Linked DNA regions of Homo sapiens: all the other regions are linked to region 3. The links are contacts of gene promoters, found by promoter capture Hi-C in blood cells and fetal thymus (Javierre and others, 2016). All regions are on one chromosome and are shown on one strand. The core of a region is centred on a gene start or on the middle of the fragment in contact, and the rest is flanking DNA. Distances in the headings are between cores, read along the strand shown.

Region 1 (5,064 bases), core at 2,408-4,907, 670 kb after region 3:
TCCCTCAGGAACCTAATTCCCACTCCACACTGGAGCCCTGAGCAAACCCAGGGCCACCCTGGGATTTGGGTTGGAGGAGACCTATTGGTAGCAGGATATGACTCAGTTTGCCCAGTCCACTGCCCTGCTTCTCACCAAGCCTCAGCAGCCCCCTGGGGACACAGGGCAAAGGGGAGAGATTAGAAAGAGGAAGCTGGGAGAATTTGCATGGAATTTGCATCTTAAGATTTGCATCTTCAGGCTCCCAGCATCCTCCAAGAGTCATCGAGGTGGTTGAGGAGGGAGATCCCAGGGGGGAGATCCAGCTGGACGGCTTCTGTCTGCAGCCCAGGACAGCCAGCCCTGCCACCCAGAGCTGGGCACAACCCTCATCCTCAGCCTTCTCCCCTCTCCTCCCTCCCTCCCCACCCAACCCCTTTCCCTCCCCTACACCACGCCTTGCCCCTTCTCTCACCCTGAGCCCAAGTCAGCTCTCTTCGGATCTTCACCATAACTCCAAAGCCATCATCGATTCAATCCCCAGCCCTGACCTTGTCCTTGTCATTAACCCATTCAACTATGTTTTCGGTGTCTCCCAGGTACCAAGTATGACACCAGGAGATGGGGACAAAACCAAAAAAAAGTATGGACTAATTTATTAGAGAAAACAGACATCAATCAAAGATGTTAGCTATAGTGCTGTGAGAGCCATGTATAGTGAAATTTGGCTTTCCTGGAAAAAGCAATTATTGAGCTAAGATCAGGAGGAAGAGGAAACGTGACCTCAGTTTGAGAGGTAGAGAGGGAACAGCATGTGCCAAGGCCCTGGGATGGTGACGAGCTGACTTCACTTCCTTCAGGTCTTTACTCAAAAGTCTTCTTCCCAAGGAGCCCTCCTTGGCCACTCTGTATCTAAAATATCCTCCTTTTCTTTTTTCTGAGATGGATTTTCGCTTTTGTTGCCCAGGCTTGATAGCAATGGCATGACCTTGGCTCACTGCAACCTCTGCTTCCTGGGTTCAAGCTATTCTCCTGCCTCAGCCCCCGAGTAGCTGGGATTACAGGCATGCGCCACCATGCCCGGCTAATTTTTATTTTTAGTAGAGACGGGGTTACTCCATGTTGGTCAGGCTGGTCCCGAACTCCTGACCTCAGGTGATCCGCCCACCTCAGCCTCCCAAAGTGCTGGGATTACAGGCATGAGCCACCATGCCCGGCACTCCTCTATTTTTTATATTATCCTTCCCTGTTCTCTCTTTTCTCTTCAGCACTTATCACTATTTAACATACTATTTAATGTATTTGGTTACTAGGTAATATTGTCTGCTTCCCTCACTTGAAGGCAAGCTCCATGGGTGCAGGGGTTTGCTTTGATCGCATTGTATTTTCAGGACCTGACACAGCGCTGAACACACAGTAGGGGTTCGGCCAGTGTCTGTTGATGAATGAATGAAAGGCACGTGGTCCCAGACAGAAGAGAGCAAAGGGGAATGTGAGGGGTGAAGCCAATCAGGCAGGCCGTGGGGGCCACGGGAGGGGATGGTGTCACTGTCCCAAAGGTAAAGAGGAGCCACTGCCAGGCTTGATCAGGGTTGGGAGGAGGGAACATAGAGAGTGATGTGAACAGATTTGGGTCTGGAAAAGATCATTTCAATCCCCAACTCCAGCCACATCTGTGTCTCTAACCTAAACCTGAATTGCAGTTTCGACCCCATTCCACATCCAGTCTGGAACCTACTGGAACCTTCTCTTCATCTCACAATCCCAGCCCCCTCTGACCCTAACTTGGCCTGGGCATTGAATGACCTTCCTTCGATGGTGATGGAAGCGTGCCATCAGGGAGGAAAGCAGGGCTATGCTTCCTGGTTGACAGAAGCTGCTCCTCGGAGGTGAAAGGAAAGAGGACAGGTCCAGAAAAAGGGAATAGGAACGTGCCTGCCTCCTCACTCTCCCTGGGTCCCAAATCCTATCTTTGGAGAGTCTATCTCTGACTCTCTCATAATGCTCTTCACCTTACTCCTAACACCTTCTCCCTATCCTGCGGCTCTGACTTCTGTGATTCTATCAGCAACTAGTTCCCAATCCCAACCTCCCACGCTTATTTTCTTCAGAGCACTTAGTATCCAAAATTATAGTGAACAAATTCTTGTTTACTGTTTCTTTCACTTCTTTCCCAGCTATTCCGTAAGCTCCATGTATGTTTCATTTCTTCTCTGCCTCTGCAGTGCCTAGAACGCCGTGCACCGTGCTCACTACATATCTGAGGGAGGAACGACCTGGTTCCCAACAAACACAGTTCCACTGGAGCTCAGCCCTGCCTCCAGCCCTCTTCCTAGCTTCATTCTTTTTTGGGAGGGAAGTGAGGGTATGTACTTTATGAAATTAAAGGATAACACATAATGAAATGAATGAAGTACCCTAGACGCCCCTCAGATCAAGATAAGAACACCTCCAGCAGCCTATATGGCCTCCCTCTGCCAGGGATACTCACCAGTAGAGGTTGTCTGAGAATTGCTCAGTTTTGCTGGTTCTGGAAGTTCCTATCAATGGATAACAGAACGTATCCCCTTTAATGTCTGGCTCTTTTTGCTCAGTATCATCTTTGTGAGACTCATCCGCATTGCAGTTCATTCTTTTTATTCCTGGGTAGAATTCTATTTTATGATTATACCACAAAATATTGATCATATTAATCCATTATTTAACTTAATTCTTTTGTCTTTTTTTTTTGGAGACGGAGTCTTGCTCTGTTGCCCAGGCTGGAGTGCGGTGGCACGATCTCAACTCACTGCAACTTCCGCCTCCTGAGTTCAAGCGATTCTCCTGCCTCAGCCTCCCAAGTAGCTGGGACTACAGGCGCATGCCACCACGCCTGGCTAATTTTTGTATTTTTAGTAGAGACAAGGTTTCACCATGTTGGCCAGGCTGGTCTCGAACTCTTGAGCTCAGGTGACCCACCTGCCTTGGCTTTCTAAAGTGCTGGGATTACAGGCGTGAGCCACCACGCCCAGCTATTTAACTTAATTCTTATGCCCCAGATTTCACTCTGTCTTCTAATTTAGTTTTTTTTTTTTTTTTTTTGGGCTTCTGATTTTATATCCAACTCCAATCCCTCACCAGTGGATCCTGGCCCCACAGGAAGCAACAGATCCCCTTCTCCTACCCTGATCGTTCCTCCCCGCAGCATCTTCAGGCCTTTGGGCACCCATGTGGTCCCCGAGCCCTAGCTTCAACACCTCCCACCCTTCCAGTCACAGACTCTGGGCCCTGGGGCAGAAGGACAGGCCAGCTTTCTCACTGTGGCCACTACCTGTCCCATTTCCCAGAGAGGAATGGCCTGGAGGCTGGCCAGCTGCGCTGCCACTTAGTGCCCCTCCCCCTCCCCTCCCCCGCCCACCAGTGGCCTCAGAACCAATGCAAGTCACTCACTGCCCATGGCCCTGCTTAGTAGGGGTGCCTGGCACTGTAGCCAATGGGGACTGGCAGGAGGAAGGAGCTTATTAGTCTGATAAAGATCTGGGGACCACACCCTGCCCCCTCCCGCAACTTCCCTAGGGCCCTGGCTCAGGCTGGACTGGCTCCCCCACCCTGAAGGCGCCTTCATCCACGGCATCTTCTATCCGCCCTTTCAGAGGCAGGCCCAGTGCCCTGCCTGCTCTTCCTCCCCACCAGCTCCCAGAAGGCTTGGAGCCCAGACACCTGCTCACTCACCACCAGCTGGGCTCCGCCTGGGCCTGCCCGGCACCCACCCCGGCCACCAAGGGCAGCAGCTTTTCCAGAATTTGGCTGGCAGGCCTAGTCACCCCACCTCGCCACCTCACCACTGCACCTCGGAGGCCAGCCCTGTCCACTCCACTCTGTGCCTGGCTTCTCTTGCCTGCCTTGGGCCTTCGTGTGGCCCCTCCACGGTGTCTGGGACTGAGTGCCCCTCTTGCCTCCTGAAGAGCAGCCATGGCCACCTACAAAGTCAGGGTGGCCACAGGCACCGACCTCTTGTCGGGAACACGGGACTCCATCTCACTGACCATTGTGGGGACACAAGGAGAGAGCCATAAGCAGCTGCTGAACCACTTTGGGAGAGACTTTGCAACTGGGGCGGTAAGAGTGTGTGTGTGTGTGTGTGTGTGTGTGTGTCTGTGTGTGTGTGTGTGTGTGTCTGTGTGTGTCTGTGTGTGTCTGTGTGTCTTTGTGGCCCCGGGAGGGGTGAAGGTGCGCAGGGGGAGCCAGGTGAGCTGAGCTTGGCGAGGAGAGGCTGGAGAGCTGAGGCACAGCTCCGAAGGCAGTGGGCTCCCCAGTGGCTCTACACGCCTTGTCCAGAGCTGGCTTCCAGCCCCTCGCCCATGTCCCAGATCTCTGGGCCATCCTTCTCCATCCTGCTCCTTCATCTCTAACCCTTTCAGGCATTCCTCATCTCCCTCCCCATCCTTTTCTTCTCTCTCCCTCTTCCTCAGCCCTCTCTCCCTGTCTCTGCCTATCCTGCATCTCTCTTTTCTCAATCCTTTCCACCTGCTTTCCTTCCCCTTTGCTCTCCTCCCCTTTCTGTCTTACCCCCTCTCCCGCATCCCTCTCTCTTCCATTCTCAGTCACTCTTCCTAATTCAGCTGCCTCCTAACTGTCTCACATTTGCACTGGATTCTCTGTGACTTAAAATGGCATCAGACCAGCCTGTCCAGTGGAAGGCACGCTTTGCGGGTCCTCAGACCTGATTTTCAGTCAGACCCAGCCACCTGCTGCTAGGCGACCTTAATAGGTCACTCTATCTATGTGGCCATTCTGAATATCTGCATCTTCATTGATGAATGGGAGAAGGGGCTGGCTGGGCCTCTCCCCACTCGAAAACTGTAGAGTGGTACCCAAGTCCCCAGGGGTCTGAAGGGTTCCTGCAACCTCAGGTGCCTGGAGAGGGGAGTGGGAGAAGACAGGAGCTGGGGATGGAGAGAAGGAGGGGCTGGAGTCCTACATAGCCCTGGGTAGAGGAATCCAGTAGGAGACCCCCAAGCTGGAGAAGTCAGAAGGAAGCTCAATGATCAGGTCAATATCCTGTCCCTCCGTCAGTCCAGGGAGGTGAGCATTGCGCAGCATGAG
Region 2 (5,196 bases), core at 2,093-4,592, 630 kb after region 3:
CAGCCAGGAAGAGGCTGGAGGCTCAGACGTCCACACACACGCCATTAGGCCACGGTATAAATGGACACAGCCACAAACTGTGTCAGGCCCACGCTGACACAGAGGCGTGCAACCACACGGAGACCCCCACTGACACTCTGTGACACAGATACGCTGGGGATAGGAGTGGGAGAACATCTTCATAGGCCACATCTGCACTGGACCAACGAGCTCCAGAAAATTACCCAGACCTAGGTCCAGGAGTCTGAAGCTTAAATGATTTAGAAGGGGGAGGTGTGGAGGGAAACAACTATTTAAGTGTTTAAGGAAAAATATGGCCAGGTGTTGTGGCACAGGCCTAGAATCCCAGCGCTTTGGGAAGCCAAGGCCAGAGGATCGCTTGAGGCCAAGAGTTTGAGACCACCCTGGGCAACATATTGAGACCCTCATCTCAAAAAAGAAAAAGAAAAAAAAAAAGGGAAAAAGTACAAAATTAGGTACAAAAAGTAATATTTAGAGTGAAATGAGAGATGGCAACAACTTACAAATTTTAAAAGGTGACAAAGGCCGGGAGCGGTGGCTCATGCTTGTAATCCCAGCACTTTGGGAGGCTGAGGCGGGCGGATCATGAGGTCAGGAGTTCGAGACCAGCCTGACCAACATGGTGAAACTCCATCTCTACTACAAATACAAAAATTAGCTGGGCGTGGTGGCATGCGCCTATAATCCCAGCTACTCAGGAGGCTGAGGCAGGAGAATCGCTTGAACCCAGGAGGCGGAGGTTGCAGTGAGCCAAGATGGCGCCATTGCTCTCCAGTCTGGGCGACAGAGCAAGACTCCGTCTCAAAAATAAATAAGTAAAAATAAAATAAAATAAAAGGCAAAAATTTCACACTGTCCAGAAAAATAACTTAACAGTTTTAATTTTTTTTCTTTGAGACAAGGTCTCACTCCTGTTGCCCAGGCTGGAGTGCAGTGGCACAATTACAGCTCACTGCAGCCTCGACTTCCCCAGCTCGGGTGATTCTCTCACCTCAGCCTTCCAAGTAGCTGAAACAGGAACAGGCCACCATACCTGGCTAATTTTTTTTTTTTTTTGTATTTTTAGCAGAGATAGGTTTCACCGTGTTGCCCAGGCTGGTCTCAAACTCCTGGACTCAAGCAGTCCACCTGCCTTGACCTCCCAAAGTGCTGGGATTCATATGTGAGCCACTGCACCCAGCCAGCTATTTGTAGTACTTACTGCCCACACACCTCTATAGCACTTTCCATAGACTAGCTGCTAACTCTCTATATTTCAAATCTTGTTTCTCCTCTACCACCCATGACTCATAATGTCAAGAGCCATCAGACATTCATATCACATGTGTCTCTGGCCCTGCACACTTCCAGCACGAAGCCTAGTGACTGGGCAAAGGAAATAGGAGTATCCCTGGAAGCCATTCCTACCCTAGATGAGGAGGCTAACTTAACTCAATATTGGCTGAGAACCGTGGCTCATGCCTGTAATCCTAGTACTTTAGGAGGCCAAGATGGGAGGATCACTTGAGACAAGCCTGGGCAACATAGTGAGACCCCAGTCTCACAAAAAATTAAAATTAAAAAAAAAAAATACCTGGGTGTGGTGGTGCATATCTGTTGTTCCAGCTACTCCAGAGGCTGATGTAGGGGGATTGCTTGAGCCCTGGAGGTTGAGGCTGCAGTCCCACCACTGCACTTCAGCCTGGGGGACAGACAGATCAAGACACCCTGTCTCAAAAACAAAGCAAAACAAACAAACAAAAACACCAAAACCCCAAAACAAAAAAAACCTATATATGGAAGTGACTACAAATCATCTAAATGTATCCCACAAATCCAACTCACCTTCTCCACAGCTAGATCCCCCAAAATGCTCACAGCCAGCCACTGTAACACTGGGGATGAGTGGTGATGTGATGGACGGGCCGCAGGAGCAGCCAGAGTAGAGACTGGCCTTTGTCAGTTGCAGTGAAATGCCGAAGGTATGCACAATTTGTTTTTTTTGAGACGGAGTCTTGCTGTTGCCCAGGCTGGAGTGCAGTGGCATGATCTCGGCTCACCGCAACCTCCACCTCCCGGGTTCAAGCAATTCTCCTGCCTCAGCCTCCCGAGAAGCTGGGATTACAGGCACCACCACCATGCTCGGCTAATTTTTTTTTTTTTTTTTTGAGATCTGCCCACCTCAGCCTCCCAAAGTGCTGGGATTACAGGTGTGAGCCACTGTGCCCGGCCTCCCTTATTATTTTTAATTGACAAATAATTATATGTATTTATGGGGTAAAATGTGATGTTTCCATATAAGGATACATTGTAGAACGATTAAATCAAGCTAATTAACACATCCGTCACCTCATCTACTTATTTTTTCGTGGTGAGAACATTTAAAATAGACTTTTGAGACTCTGTCTCAAAAAAAGAAAAAAGAAAAAGGAAAAAATTACTTATTCTTGTTGGATACAGGTTAAAAAAAGAAAAAAGTGTTCATTCACTTATTATTATTATTATTTTTGAGATGGAGTCTTGCTCTGTTGCCCAGGCTAGCATGCAGCAGCGCTATCTCAGCTCACTGCAAGCTCCGCATCCGGGGTTCACACCATTCTCCTGCCTCAGCCTCCCGAGTAGCTGGGATCACAGGTGCCTGCCACCATGCCTGGCTAATCTTTTTTGTATTTTTAGTAGAGACGGGGTTTCACCGTGTTAGCCAGGATGGTCTCGATCTCCTGACTTCCTGATCTGCCCACCTCACCCTCCCAAAGTGCTGGGATTACAGGTGTGAGCCCCTGAGCCCGGCCTCACTTATTATTTTTAATTGACAAATAATTATATATATTTATGGGGTAAAATGTGATGTTTCCATATAAGGATACATTGTAGAATGATTAAATCAAGCTAATTAACACATCCATCACCTCATCTATTTATTTTTTCGTGGTGAGAACATTTAAAATAGACTTTTAATAATTTCATAATATACAATACGTTATTACTAACCATGCTGTGGAATAGATAGCAAAATCTCCTTCTTCATACACCCTCTTTTCTGGATTTCCAGAACACCCCACTCCCCCTGGTTTTCCTGTTGCCTCTCTGACCGCTCTAGTCTCCGTTGCCAATTCTTCCTCCTCAACCAATCTCTAGGTGTTGGGGTGCCCCAGAGGTCCATGTTCAGCCTTTTCTTTTCTTCTTCTTCTTTTTTCTTTTTTTTTTGTTTGAGACAGATTCTCATGCCCAGGCTGGAGTGCAGTGGCTCAATCTCGGCTGACTGCAACCTTGGCCTCCCGGGCTCAAACGATTCTCCTGCCTCAGCCTCCTGAGTAGCTGGGACTACAGGCGTGCGTCACTATGCCCAGATAATTTTTCTATTTTTTGTGGAGACGGGGTTTTGTCATGTTGGGCAGGCTGGCCTCGAACTCCTGACCTTAGGTGATCCACCCGCCTCAGCCTCCCAAAGTGCTAAGATTACAGGCATGAGCCAACACACCCGGCCCATGTTCAGTCTTTTCCCGCCACATTTTCTCTCTAGGTGCTCCAGTCTTATAGCATTAAAAGACGTCTATCTCCCAATCACTCCAGCGTATTTACCCTCCAGCTCTGATCTCCAAACTTGTATATCCCTAACCTATGTGTGACCTCCACCTAGATATCTTTTTTTTGAGCGGAGTCTTCCTCTGTTGCCGAGGCTGGAGTGCAATAGCGCAGTCTAGGCTCACTGCAACCTCTGCCTCCCGGGTTCAAGAGATTCTCCTGCCTCAGCCTCTGGAGTAGCTGAGACCACAGGCGCATGCCACCATACCCAGCTAGTTTTTGTATTTTTAGTAGAGACGGTGTTTCACCATGTTGGCCAGGTTGATCTCAAACCCCTGACCTCGTGATCCACCCGCCTTGGCCTCCCAAAGTGCTGGGATTACAGAAGTGAGCCACCGCGCCTGGCCAGGATGTCTTAACTAATATGGCTAAAGTATAATGCTTGATTTCTCTTCCTAAACCTCTCCCCGACCCCACAGGTTTTCCCATCTCAGTTAAAAGCCACCACCACCGTCTACCCAGTTACAGTCATGCGCTGCATAACAATGTTTTGGTCAATGATGGACTGCATATATATATATATGATTATAATGGGGATTGCCGGATGCAATGGCGTACGCCTGTAATCCCAGCACTTTGGGAGGCCAAGGCGGGCAGATCACTTGAGGTCAGGAGTTCAATACCAGCCTGGCCAACATGGTGAAACCCTGTTTCTACTAAAAATACAAAAATTAGCCGGGCGTGGTGGCTAATGCCTGTAATCCCAGATATTCGAGCAGCTATTCGAGAGGCTGAGGCAGGAGAATCGCTTGAACCCGGGAGGCAGAGGTTGCAGTGAGCCGAGATCCCACCATTGCACTCCGTCCTGGGCAACAAGAGCAAGATTATAATGGGGCTAAAAAAAAATCCTTATCGCCAGGCTCGGTGATAAGCACTTCGGGAGGCCGAGGCTGGCAGATAACGAGGTCAGGAGATCGAGACCAGCCTGAGCAACATGGTGAAACCCCGTCTCTACTAAAAATACAAAAGTTAGTGGGGTGTGGTGGCACAGGCCTGTAATCCCAGCTACTCGGGAGCCTGAGGCAGGAGAATCGCTTGAACCCGGCAGGCGGAGGTTGCAGTGAGCCGGGATCGCCCCACTGCACTCCAGCCTGGGCAACTGAGTGAGACTCTGCCTCAAAACAAAAAGGAAAAAAAAACCCGAAAAATTCCTATCACCCAAAGATGGCATAGCTATCATAACATTGTAGTGCCATGCGTTACCTTTTAGGTACACAAATGCTTACAATTGTGTACAATTGCCTCCAGCATTCAGTACAGTACCATGCTGTAGCTGTACAGGTTTGCAGCCTAGGAGCACAATAGGCTGTATAGTGTAGCCTAGGTGTGTAGAAGGCTCTACCATCTAGGTTTACATCACTACACTCTGTGATGTCTGAATAATGAAATTGCCTAGCAACGCATTTCTTTGAATATATCCGCACGTTAAGCAAATACATGATCTTACCTAAGACAAAGACCTAGGAGTAACCCCTTCATGTTTTCTCTCCCCACCACCACCTCAAGGCATTGCCTAAAAGACTGCTTCAGCCCCCTGAATGAGCCCTCTGCCTTCATTCTCCAAATAGCAACAAAAGCGATCTTTTAATTTTATCTATCTATCTATCTATC
Region 3 (4,979 bases), core at 443-2,942:
CACTCTAATGATATCTTTGGTGCATAGCTACAGCCATTGTTGTATTAACCTGCATCACTGAAGGAAAAGAGAAGGGGAGAAGTGATAGTTTTGCTTTTCCCTGAACATATCAGATGAAACCTGAACTGTTTAGCTCATTTTTGGACAATGTATTGACATAATTTAAGATGGCTGCCTTATTGTAGCCTGTCTACAGAAGGTGCCTAGAAGACAGAGGAATATGTAAAACTGGCTTGAAGAGTGATTAATCAGAACTTTACGTGGTACAGAAGAGAAATTTTAATGGCAACAGAATATTGATCTTCTAATGTTTGAAAGCCTATTAAATAGGAGAGAAAGATGATTTTCTGTTTTGTTGTAAAAGGATCCAACCAGTTCTGATGGTTGAAAGCATCGTGAATGCGAAGGTCCACTCAATGTAAGCAGAGTTTCCTAACAATTGGACTTCCACAGCGACGGGATCTGCCTCCTCATTCAGTTGTGCCTTTCCCATCAGCGAGAGACTCCTAGGAGCCCATTAGGAAGCTGTGCCAGAACTCACAGGTTCTTTGGATGGTATCTGAGATAGTATCCAGCTCTTACATTTTTATTTTTTCCGAAAAAAATATTTTTGAGACTGAGTCTCACTCTGTCCTCCAGGCTGGTGTGCAGTGGTGCAATCATAGCTCACTGCAGCCTCAAACACTTGGGCTGAAGCAATCCTCCTGCCTCAGCCTCCCAAGTACTGGGACCACAGGTGTGTGCCACGATTCCTGATTACTTTGTTTATATTTTGTAGAGATGACGTTTTGCTATGTTGCCCAGACTAATCTTGAACTCCTAACCTCAAGTGACGCCCTGCCTTGGCCTCCCAAAGGAGGGAGATTATGAGCAGGAGCCCCTGGGCCTGGCTGAGATTTTCCCCTTAGTCTTTTTATACACAGGATATTTTATTCATAAAATACATAAATAGTAGGCAAATTTTGGGGTCAAGTGAAATAGATATGTTGTAATAGTTGATATATAGACCAGAGTTCCTTAGCTGAACTGGAGGGCAGGCTTTAGGTGATCCATGGATGCCCTGAACTTGTGGACACCATTGAAAATCTGTACGAAACCATGGACAGTCTCCTGTGATTTTCATTCCTCAAAATGTCTCTTGGACTCAAAGATGCCTGAGAGCAAAGGATGCATGTTCCCCTACTATAGGATCCAGGATAGTGAATATCAGTAAACATTCAGCAAAAAAGCTTTGCCACATTGAGTACTTCGACGTAACGTCTCCATTCAACAAGTCAATTTACCCAGGATCTCCTGTATATGTTAATCTCACTCTTGGAAGGACTCATCATTCTGCTTACCCTAAATTTCCTTCCACCTTCCTCCCTCTCTCACCAGACTAGACTCTGAAATGGGAAGGAGAAGCGGGGAGGAGAGCCCAACACCCCCTCAAGTTTAGAGTGGAGAGGACACAGCCTCTGCTGGGACAGGGAAAAGAGGAATGTGGAGACCCTGAGGATGCTTTTGGACAATGCTCAGAGGTTGGGACATTGCCAGGAGATACCGTTCACCCCGGATCTCCAAGAAAAGAGATCAGTCTGGCAGTTACATGTGTTTTTCTTCAAAGTAGTTGCCAGTTTGGAATGACCGATGACATCAGAGATTCCGACTTTCCTGATTGGAAGGACCGGACTCTGGTTGCTTGGGAGTTCAGGTGGACAACAGCAACTTCTCAGAACTACTCTTCACTCCTAACTTCTCCCGAGCCTCTAGAAGAGAAACGCACTCTTCTGGGTCCTAACGGAGTCTGGAAGAAGGCTTTGGACAGAACAGGGACTAGGTTTTGTGGACAGAAACAAAGTGTTTGGGAGAGATTATGGCCAGTGGTCAAGCGCGCCCCCCGTTTGAGGAGGAGAGCCCCCAGCCTAGCACAACGGTACGGTCCCCCGAGGTGGTGGTGGATGATGAAGTGCCAGGACCATCAGGTGAGGTGACTGGAGGGAGAAGCGATGGGAGATGATTGACTGAGGAGAGGGAAGGGGGCCAGTTACTGGGAATCTGAAGCACCTGAGTAGGGTGTGTGGGAAAGAAACGACGGACTCAGGAAGCCAGGGATCGGGGAAGGAGGGTGCAGGGAATGGGGCCAAGCATGGCCACGTGTAAAGAAAGTCTGGGGAGCAATGAAGGGGGTCAGGAGATGTGCTCAAAAGATGAGAGAGGAAGGCCGAGGCGGACGGATCACGAGGTCAGAAGATCGAGACCATCCTGGTTAACACGATGAAACCCTGTCTCTACCAAAAATACAAAAGTGAGTTGGGCATGGTGGTGCGTGCCTGTAGTCCCAGCTACTCAAGAGGCTGAGGCAGGAGAATCATTTGAACCCAGGAGGCGGAGGTTGCAGTGAACCAAGATTGTGCCACTGCACTCCGGTCTGGGCAACAAGAGGGAGACTCCATCTCAAAAAAAAAAAAAAGAGAGAGAGAGAGAGAGAGCAGACAGAGCTCAAGGGAAGGTTTCCATTTTTCTCCAATTGAAAGTTCTTATCTGTGATGAGGAAATGTTTTGAGGACAGAGAGCCGGAAGAATGGGGAGGTGAGGGAGAGGCAGATGGGGATCAGCAAAGGAGAAAGGTGGAAACATGGCTTGGAGAAGCTGACAGTCTGCGAGGCTTGGGAGGATGGAAGAGTAGTTTGAGGTTCCTGGGTCGGGGCGTCTAAGGTGATCAATGGCAGAAACATGACACCATGGCCTGGTTTCTTCACTCAGCCCCTTGGATAGATCCCAGCCCCCAGCCTCAATCCCTTGGCCTGAAAAGGAAGAGCGAATGGTCAGACGAATCCGAGGAGGAGCTGGAGGAGGAGCTGGAGTTGGAGCGCGCCCCTGAGCCCGAGGACACCTGGGTGGTGGAGACGCTGTGTGGGCTCAAGATGAAGCTGAAGCGAAAGCGAGCATCCTCCGTGCTCCCTGAGCACCACGAGGCCTTCAACAGGCTCCTTGGTAGGAGGATACCCCAAAAAGCACCTCCAACCCTGTTCTTTTAAAAAAGTGGAATCTTTCAATAATCACACTTTCCCAATAAGAAGAATATGCCCTCCTGGGGGATGAGCGCTCCATGCAGGAGGAGGATGCTTAGGAGATAGAGGATTAGGCTAGTCTTAATAAAGGTCTGCACTTGAAATAAGAAAGCTTGGTTTCTGGCCAGGTGCAGTGGCTCATGCCTGAGATCTTGGTGCTTTGGGAGGCTGAGGCGGGAGGATCTCTTGAACTCAGGAGTTTGAAGTTGCAATGAGCTATGATTGCACCACTGCACTCCAGCCTGGTTGACAAGGAAAGACCCTGTCATAAAATAAATAAAATAAAATAAAATAAAAGATAAAAGAAAGCTTGGTTTCAGCTGTACCCTCTGAAACTCTATGTCTCTTGATGACTTTTCTAAACCTAAGTGTCTCCATCCGTGGAGGGGGATAACAAGGCCATGGGCACACCCAGCTGTGACTATCTCAGGAAGCAATGATGGGAATTCTATTATGACTTCTGCAGTGGTCCCTTCCTGTCTGATGGGAGGACATCATGGCTTATTCACAGCTCTTCATCCTGTAGACTCTGACACCAGAGGCCTCCTTCGGCCTCTCCTCAGGGGAATCTCAGAGCGGGAGCCTCCCTCCTTGCCCAGTGAAAGTCCTTCTCTCCTCTCCCATCCACCTAAGCCTTGGCCACAATCCTGAGACTTCCCCCAGAGGGACACAGTTCTCCTCTCTGCTCTGCTGCTCCCACGGCAACCCTGTTCCACTTCTCACCCTGACACAGGCTCTCTTTTCACAGGGGATCCTGTCGTTCAAAAATTCCTGGCCTGGGACAAAGACCTGAGGGTGTCAGACAAGGTAAGGTTGTTCTCCACTCAACTGTGTTCCTGCTTTAACACACGTCCTGGGGAAGGGTGCAGCGTCTAAACCCACAGTTTCTCTCCTCTCTCCCTCTACCATCTCCCACCTGCTGATTCCATACTCTTGGGCGCCCACATTTTGATTTTTATTTTTTCAGAAACAGGGTCTCGTTCTGTTGCCCAGGCTGGAATGCAGTGTTGCCATCATAGCTCACTGCAGCCTCAGCCTCCTGGGCTCAAGTGATCCTCCCGCCTCGGCCTCTCCAATAGCTGGGACTCCAGGCGTGAGTCACCGCCCCCAGCTATTCTAGGTCTTCTCATAATTTGTCAGCATCTCCCTCGGGGCTCTGGTAGCCTGTTGCATAGTTGATGGGTGGCCCCTGCCTCTGCACAGGGTCCTTTGGAATCCAGGCCCTGGGCCAGTCTTGAAACTCCTGACCCCTATCCTCTCAGATCTTTGGGACAGTCCTTTGCCCCAGCTCACCAAGACCCTCCTGACATTAGCAGCCCTAGACACTCTCCCTCCAGTGATCCCACTGGAGCTCATCATCATGGGAGCATCACAGACCTCCCTCCCTCCGACTTCCCGGATTTGCAGCTGACTTTGAACACTCTCCACCCGCAAGCCCCCAATGAGCATAGTCACCCAACACTGAGGTTCCTTCTGTGATAGACAACCGCGCCCCAGCCCCTGTTCCCTTCTCTCCACCATCTTCCTCTTCCAGGATGTGACCAACCTTTCTCTCTCTCTACTCCCTTCTCTCCATCAGTATCTCCTGGCTATGGTCATAGCGTATTTTAGCCGTGCCGGCCTCTTCTCGTGGCAATACCAACGCATTCATTTCTTCCTGGCTCTGTGAGTAGTTTGCTTCTTCCCATCTGTCAATATCCAACACCCTGGGACAGTGGACGAAGTGGGATTCCAACCTTCCATCTATTTTTTTACCCTACTTCTCCTCTTTACTCTGTATATAAAAACGATAAGATTATACTATGGTGTTCTTAGTCTGTTCTTTCTAAAAACAAACACAAATGCAGTTGACAAATAGTAGAATCAAACAAAAGGAAACATAAACCCGTCCTAAGGGGAAAGGAAAGCCGTGGACACGACCCTGCT
Region 4 (5,620 bases), core at 739-3,238, 700 kb after region 3:
CGTTAACCGCTCATAAGTCGGTCAATATGCGCCATCTAGCGAATTTTTTCTGAATTACAAAAACTGGGGCGTTCCATGGTGAAAAAGATGGTTCAATATGTCCTTTGTCTAATTGTTCTTTTGCCAATGAATGTAATGCCTCCAGTTTTTGTTGAGGAAGCGGCCACTGATCAACCCAAACAGGTTTTGGAGTTTTCCGTTTTAATGCAATGGGCTTTGGAGGCTCAACAGTGGCCGCACCTAAGAAGGATATCCAATTCCTCTTCGGTCAAATTTAACTGAGACCTCAATCGGCTGGGTTATTCCGTCCTCATTTTTTTCCTAATCCTTTCCCAGGAATATATCCCATTTTGGTCATCATTCTTTGGCTCTCAGGACTGTAAATTGCAGGGGGAATGGTGATTTCTGTACCCCATTGCTGTAACAAATCTCTCCCCTACAAATTAATGGGAATGAAAGTAATCATAGGTTGGATGGTGACTTCCTGCCCATCTGGTCTTAAACGATGTAAAATTGTAGCACTTTGATAGACTTCAGATGCTGTGCCTACTCCAATCAAGCCCATAGAAGCCTTTTGTCGGGGCCACGCTTTTGGCCACTGATTTAGAGCTATAATTGAAATATTAGCACCTGTGTCTACCAGTCCTTCAAACTGTTTTCCCTGAATCATTGTGCACACAGGTCTGTTTTTAGAAGCTTGATTTACTCAATAGGCTGCTTTTCCTTCACTGTCAGTACTGCCAAAACCACTTTCTCTTTTTACTGTACTTTTTTCTACTATTACATAAGGTAATAACAACAGCTGAGCAATTCTATCTCCTGGGTTTGCACTCCAAGGAATACTGGAACTAATAACCAATTGAATTTCTCCCACAAAATCTGAATCAATCAGCCCAGTATGAATCTGAACTCCTTTTAAGTTTAGACTAGATGTTCCTAAAACAAGTCCAACTGTCCATCAGGTAAAGGGCCAAATACTCCAGTGGGGACTTTTTGAGGGGATTTCCCTGGAAGCAGAGAGATAGCTTTTGGGAAACATAAATCTAAGCCTGTACTCCCTGCTGTAGCTGGCGCCAATTGTGTTACTGTGGTGGTTGGGCAAGAGACAATGATGGTGGTTGGACTAGAGGCAATGACCGACTGAGGGACCAACTGCTGGAGTGAGAATGCCCCCGTTTGGAGCGGGGCCTGAGGCTGGCCCCTCTTCCTGTTTCCCGACTGCGGTTGTAACGGTTGGCCATTTTTGTCAAATTTGAAGTGACACTGATTAGCCCAATGTTTACCCTTCTGGCACCTGGGACATAAGCCAGGTGGTTCTTTTATTTGATTATATCTTGCCTGTTTGTTCGATTTGTTCTTACGTTCCTTTTTTGTGTGTCCAAATTGCCCACAATTGTAACAATTGCCTGAAAAGTTTTTAATTGGACCTCCCACTTTTAACTCTGTCGTGGCTTGAACCATTATCATAGCCTTATGCATGATTCCACCAACTCCATTACATGCCCTGATATATTCATTAATCACATCAACTCCCACCGGAACCTTTCCTTTCACTGGGTGAATAGCTGACTGGCATTCAGGGTTAGTATTCTCACAAGCCAATAATTCTACAATCACCTTCCTGGCACTTTCTTTCTTTCTTTCTTTTTTTTTTTTTTTTTTTGAGGCGGAGTTTCGCTCTTGTTACCCAGGCTGGAGTGCAGTGGCGTGATCTCGGCTCACCGCAACCTCCGCCTCCTGGGTTCAAGCAATTCTCCTGCCTCAGCCTCCTGAGTAGCTGGGATTACAGACATGTGCCATCACGCCCGGCTAATTTTTATATTTTTAGTAGAGACGGGGTTTCTCCATGTTGGTCAGGCTGGTCTCCAACTCCCGACCTCAGGTGATCCGCCCACCTCGGCCTCCCAAAGTGCTGGGATTACAGGCATGAGCCACCGCACCCGGCCTTCCTGGCACTTTCATCAGTGAGAGCCTTCTGTGCTGCGTCTTGAAGGCGAGCAATGAAATCAGGATATGGTTCCTTTGAGCCTTGTCTAATAGAATTAAAAGACTGATAAGTAGTTCCCAGATCCTGAATTTTCTCCCATGCCCTCAAACAGCAATTGCGAATTTGTTCAATGGCATCATCTCGAAGTCCTGATGGTTGTTTACAGTTCCCCATTGACCCCCTATTCCTAGAAGTTGTTCAAATGTAATGGCAATAGCAGGATTAGCAGCACGGTTTTTTCGATCTTGATTTTGAGCCTCGTCGGTCCACCAAGTCTTAAACTGAAGAAATTGGGAGGGCGAAAGTGTAACTTTCGTTAAAATCTCCCAATCACACGGAGTCAATAGCTTATTCTGAGCCACAGATTGCAATAGCGATCGGATGAAAGGCGAATTGGGACCATACTGACCAACAGCTGCTTTAAGATCTTTGAGCAGCTTAAAAGAAAATGGTTCCCATACCGCTTGATGGGCTCCACCTTGCTGTCGTGGGGGTTGCAAAACTACTGCAAACTGCCAGGCATCAAGATCTCCGGCTAATCTAGCCTGCCGAATAGTAAACTGTAATGGCGATTCATTAACATTAGATGGCAGTGCAGCCTTATGTTGTACTGGTGCTACACCATGCGCTCGTGGTTCCTGAGGCCACAATTCATTCATTCGTGAAACAGGGCAAATTTGAGATTCAGACCTCCAAGGCTCCAAGCTACATTGCTTTATTGGAGGCGGCCACTCCGGATGATCCCAATGAGGAGCCGACTGCTCCTCAAGGCCCTTCTTTGTTTTAAACATCTTGGCATATATGGCTTCTCTATTTTAGGAGCAGCTGAAGGTCCCACGTGCTCCTCAAAAGAAATTAACTCATCTCCAGGTTTGTCTGTATTTTCCTCAAAATCTTCTTCACTATCCTCTCCTCCTTCAGCAGCATCACCACCTTCCTCTGCAGAAATTCTTTCTGCTGGAGGATAAGCCTCATTTTCCGATTGAAACGGTTCCGAGGCTGCTTTAACTATAGCCCAGTTTGACCAGGCTGTTAGGGGGATAAATTTTCCTTCCTTACAAACTTGTTTTAAGGCAATTCCCACCTGTTCCCAATCTTTGAAGTCCATGGTACCATGTTCAGGAAACCAAGGACGATATTGCTCTACTGTTGGAAACAGAGTAATCAAATTTTCTGTGCTAGCCTTAATTCCTGCCCTCTTTAAGAGGAGCTTAATAAAATGTAAATATGCAGAATGTTTACTTTTGGATTGTCCCATGGTGTCCCTGGAATGCTCCGAGTGCACAAGCTTACCGCAAGGCCGACCACACGTTCTCGGGAGTTCCTGGACAGACCGTTCTTCACAACGACCACGCTCAGGTGTAACTTCACCTGGGTTCAAGGAGACCGTGTTGGGTGCCAAAGATGTAGGGGAACCTGCCTGATACACCACCCGCAGGCTCTCCCCTTCCCGGTGGAGACGAGGGAATGAGAAAAGAAATAAAGACAAAGACACAAAGTTTAAGAGTTAACAAAAGTGGGTCCAAGGATCCATCGCAACGTGGAGATTGCAAAGGCCAGGAGCTCTGGGTTCCACTGATATTTATTGAGTACAGTTCCTTTGATCCTATAGGCTGAGGGTGGGCTGATGGTGAGGTGATCATTGGGTGAGCATAGGGAGAGGTGGCGGAGCCTGCTGTGTCGGTCATTAGCCAGTTAATACTATTTACTGTTCCACTACGTAAGCTAATACTCTATGTTTAACTTACAGATAATCATCAGAGTCCAACTAAGCGGCTAATAGAACAGAACAGGACGTGAAAGCAAACAGCCCTTCAAACCCACAGGCCTGTACATCAAAGGAGTGGTCAACGCCTGAGCACCGTCAGCAGAGCAGCTGCTTTGCCTCTGGGAACATGCGGGAGATAGGAGGCTTCCTCCTTAACCCTACTGCAGAGGACTTCTCCTCTTTTACCAGCAGCCTCCTGCAGTACCCTCCCGGGTAATGGAGCAGGGGTCGCTTCCCTTCCCATGAGACCTTTGTTCAGGCACTCAAGTGGAAGGTTGAGCAATAAGCCAACTTTCTTGCTCAGAGGCTCCGCAGACTTCCTGTGGTTGTTTGTTCCACTCTGTGGTCAGTCAAGCAAGCTCACCGCCTGATTCTCTTATTGTTGTACTAAGCACAAGCTATTATACTTATGATTCATAATCATATTAGTAAAGCACTATTCTAAAGCATATACTATTAATCTTTAAATGGGCACAGTGTAGGCTGGTCCTCAACCACCTGGGCCCACATCCAAGCCCCCTATTTCAACCCACACATCCCTCTCCATTTCTGCCACTTTTGTCTCTGTCCCAGGCTTCAGCACCTTCTTAGGTCAGTGGGGGATGCGGGTGGGGACAGAAGAGTCTGTTTCTCATTCCCTGGGGTAGTGAGCAAAGGCACCCCTGGGATGTCCAACATGGATGGGGGTGCGGTGAGGGGAAGGCGGGCACAAAGATAAAGAGGAGGCTGGAAGAGGACCTGGCAGAGAGAAGAAGGGATTGGGGTTCTAGGCACTGTTCTGGGGTGGCACAAGCAGCTCTCCCTCCACCCTGGGAGGGATTTCAAACAAATTAAAAACATGGTTCATACAAATTAGAATGTTCACAAGTCAAATATTTTATTCGACTCAGCCAGATGGTCATGCTGGTTTCAAGAACAATTGAGGAGCCGGGCACTTACAGGCAATTTAATAAAGGAATGTTAGGACACGATTGTTGGGTTAGATATGAAACTAGTCAACATTCTACAGAGCAATGAACTATAATCTCCAGTTTATTTGCTTTTAAAAAAAGGAACAAATCATTTACATGAACTTCACATAAATCGAGGCCTTTATTAATAACACACAGAAAAGTCAAACAGTGGTATGCCGTGCTAGAAAATAAAGCATCCCTCCCAGCACTTTGGGAGGCCGAGGTGGGAGGATCACTTGAGGTCAGGAGTTCGAGATCAGCCTGGTCAATATGGCGAAACCCCGTCTCCACTAAAAATACAAAAATTAGCCGGGTGTGGTGGTGGGTGCCTGTAATCCCAGCTATTTGGAAGGCTGAGGCAGGAGAATCTCTTGAACCCGGGACGCGGAGGTTGCAGTGAGCTGAGATGGCACCATTGCACTCCAGTCTGGGTGACACAGTGAGACTCTGTCTCAAAAACCAGAAACCACCCCCCCAAAAAAAAGAAAGAAGGAAAACCAAAAATTAAAGAAAAGAAAACATCTTTAAAAGGACAGGCAGTTGTCCTCTTGATTCTATTCATCAGTTTTGGATAATTTTTCTTAACAAGGCTGTTCCCTGTGAGTACCTCAAGCAATCAAATAGATCTCCTTTTCAGGGTTTCACCTCTCTCTCTTTCTCTCTCTCTCTCTCTCTTAGTTTAAGGCTCCCACTTCTTTACTCCTCAATGTGGCCCTGCTGTACAATCCCACTCTCCTTCTCAAGCAACAGCTAGGTGTGCATCCTTCTTTCCAGATCTTTCCTTGCCATTTCTATTGATTTACATACTTCACTTAAAAAAAAAACACACAAGGGGGCCCAGCGCGGTGGCTCACGCCTGTAGTCCCAGCACTTTGGGAGGCCGAGGCGGGCGGATCATGAGGTCAGGAGATC

What was found. The method cuts DNA at HindIII sites, captures the fragments that hold promoters and counts their contacts. A CHiCAGO score of 5 or more calls a contact.
Region 1: the fragment with the promoter of ALOX12B here is called in contact with the fragment with the promoter of SPDYE4 in region 3 in 4 of 17 cell types (erythroblasts, total CD4 T cells, naive CD8 T cells and 1 more); the score reaches 7.2 in erythroblasts.
Region 2: a contact is called between a fragment that was not itself captured here and the fragment with the promoter of SPDYE4 in region 3, in 1 of 17 cell types (neutrophils). The highest score is 5.3, in neutrophils.
Region 4: a contact is called between a fragment that was not itself captured here and the fragment with the promoter of SPDYE4 in region 3, in 2 of 17 cell types (total B cells and naive CD4 T cells). The highest score is 5.6, in total B cells.

What each region holds. Positions count from the first base shown.
Region 1 is chr17:8,086,309-8,091,372 of GRCh38, reverse strand. It overlaps ALOX12B (arachidonate 12-lipoxygenase, 12R type), which reads left to right and starts at 3,657. Exons shown (of 15, transcript NM_001139.3): 1 at 3,657-4,077. The coding sequence starts at 3,931. It overlaps MIR4314 (microRNA 4314), which reads right to left and starts at 3,317; the gene lies at 3,226-3,317. RefSeq lists an enhancer at 3,881-4,629. The HindIII fragment of the contact is 26,367 bases long and covers 1-5,064 here.
Region 2 is chr17:8,128,343-8,133,538 of GRCh38, reverse strand. No RefSeq gene overlaps it. Among named protein-coding and RNA genes, the nearest start is that of TRG-GCC2-6, 5.2 kb to the right of the region's middle. The HindIII fragment of the contact is 6,180 bases long and covers 253-5,196 here.
Region 3 is chr17:8,755,259-8,760,237 of GRCh38, reverse strand. SPDYE4 (speedy/RINGO cell cycle regulator family member E4) reads left to right here and starts at 1,692. Exons shown (of 7, transcript NM_001394956.1): 1 at 1,692-1,964; 2 at 2,746-2,976; 3 at 3,802-3,860; 4 at 4,633-4,718. The coding sequence starts at 1,856. The HindIII fragment of the contact is 1,936 bases long and covers 1,232-3,167 here.
Region 4 is chr17:8,054,809-8,060,428 of GRCh38, reverse strand. No RefSeq gene overlaps it. Among named protein-coding and RNA genes, the nearest start is that of ALOX15B, 19 kb to the right of the region's middle. RefSeq lists enhancers at 2,682-2,751, 2,235-2,752. The HindIII fragment of the contact is 2,579 bases long and covers 699-3,277 here.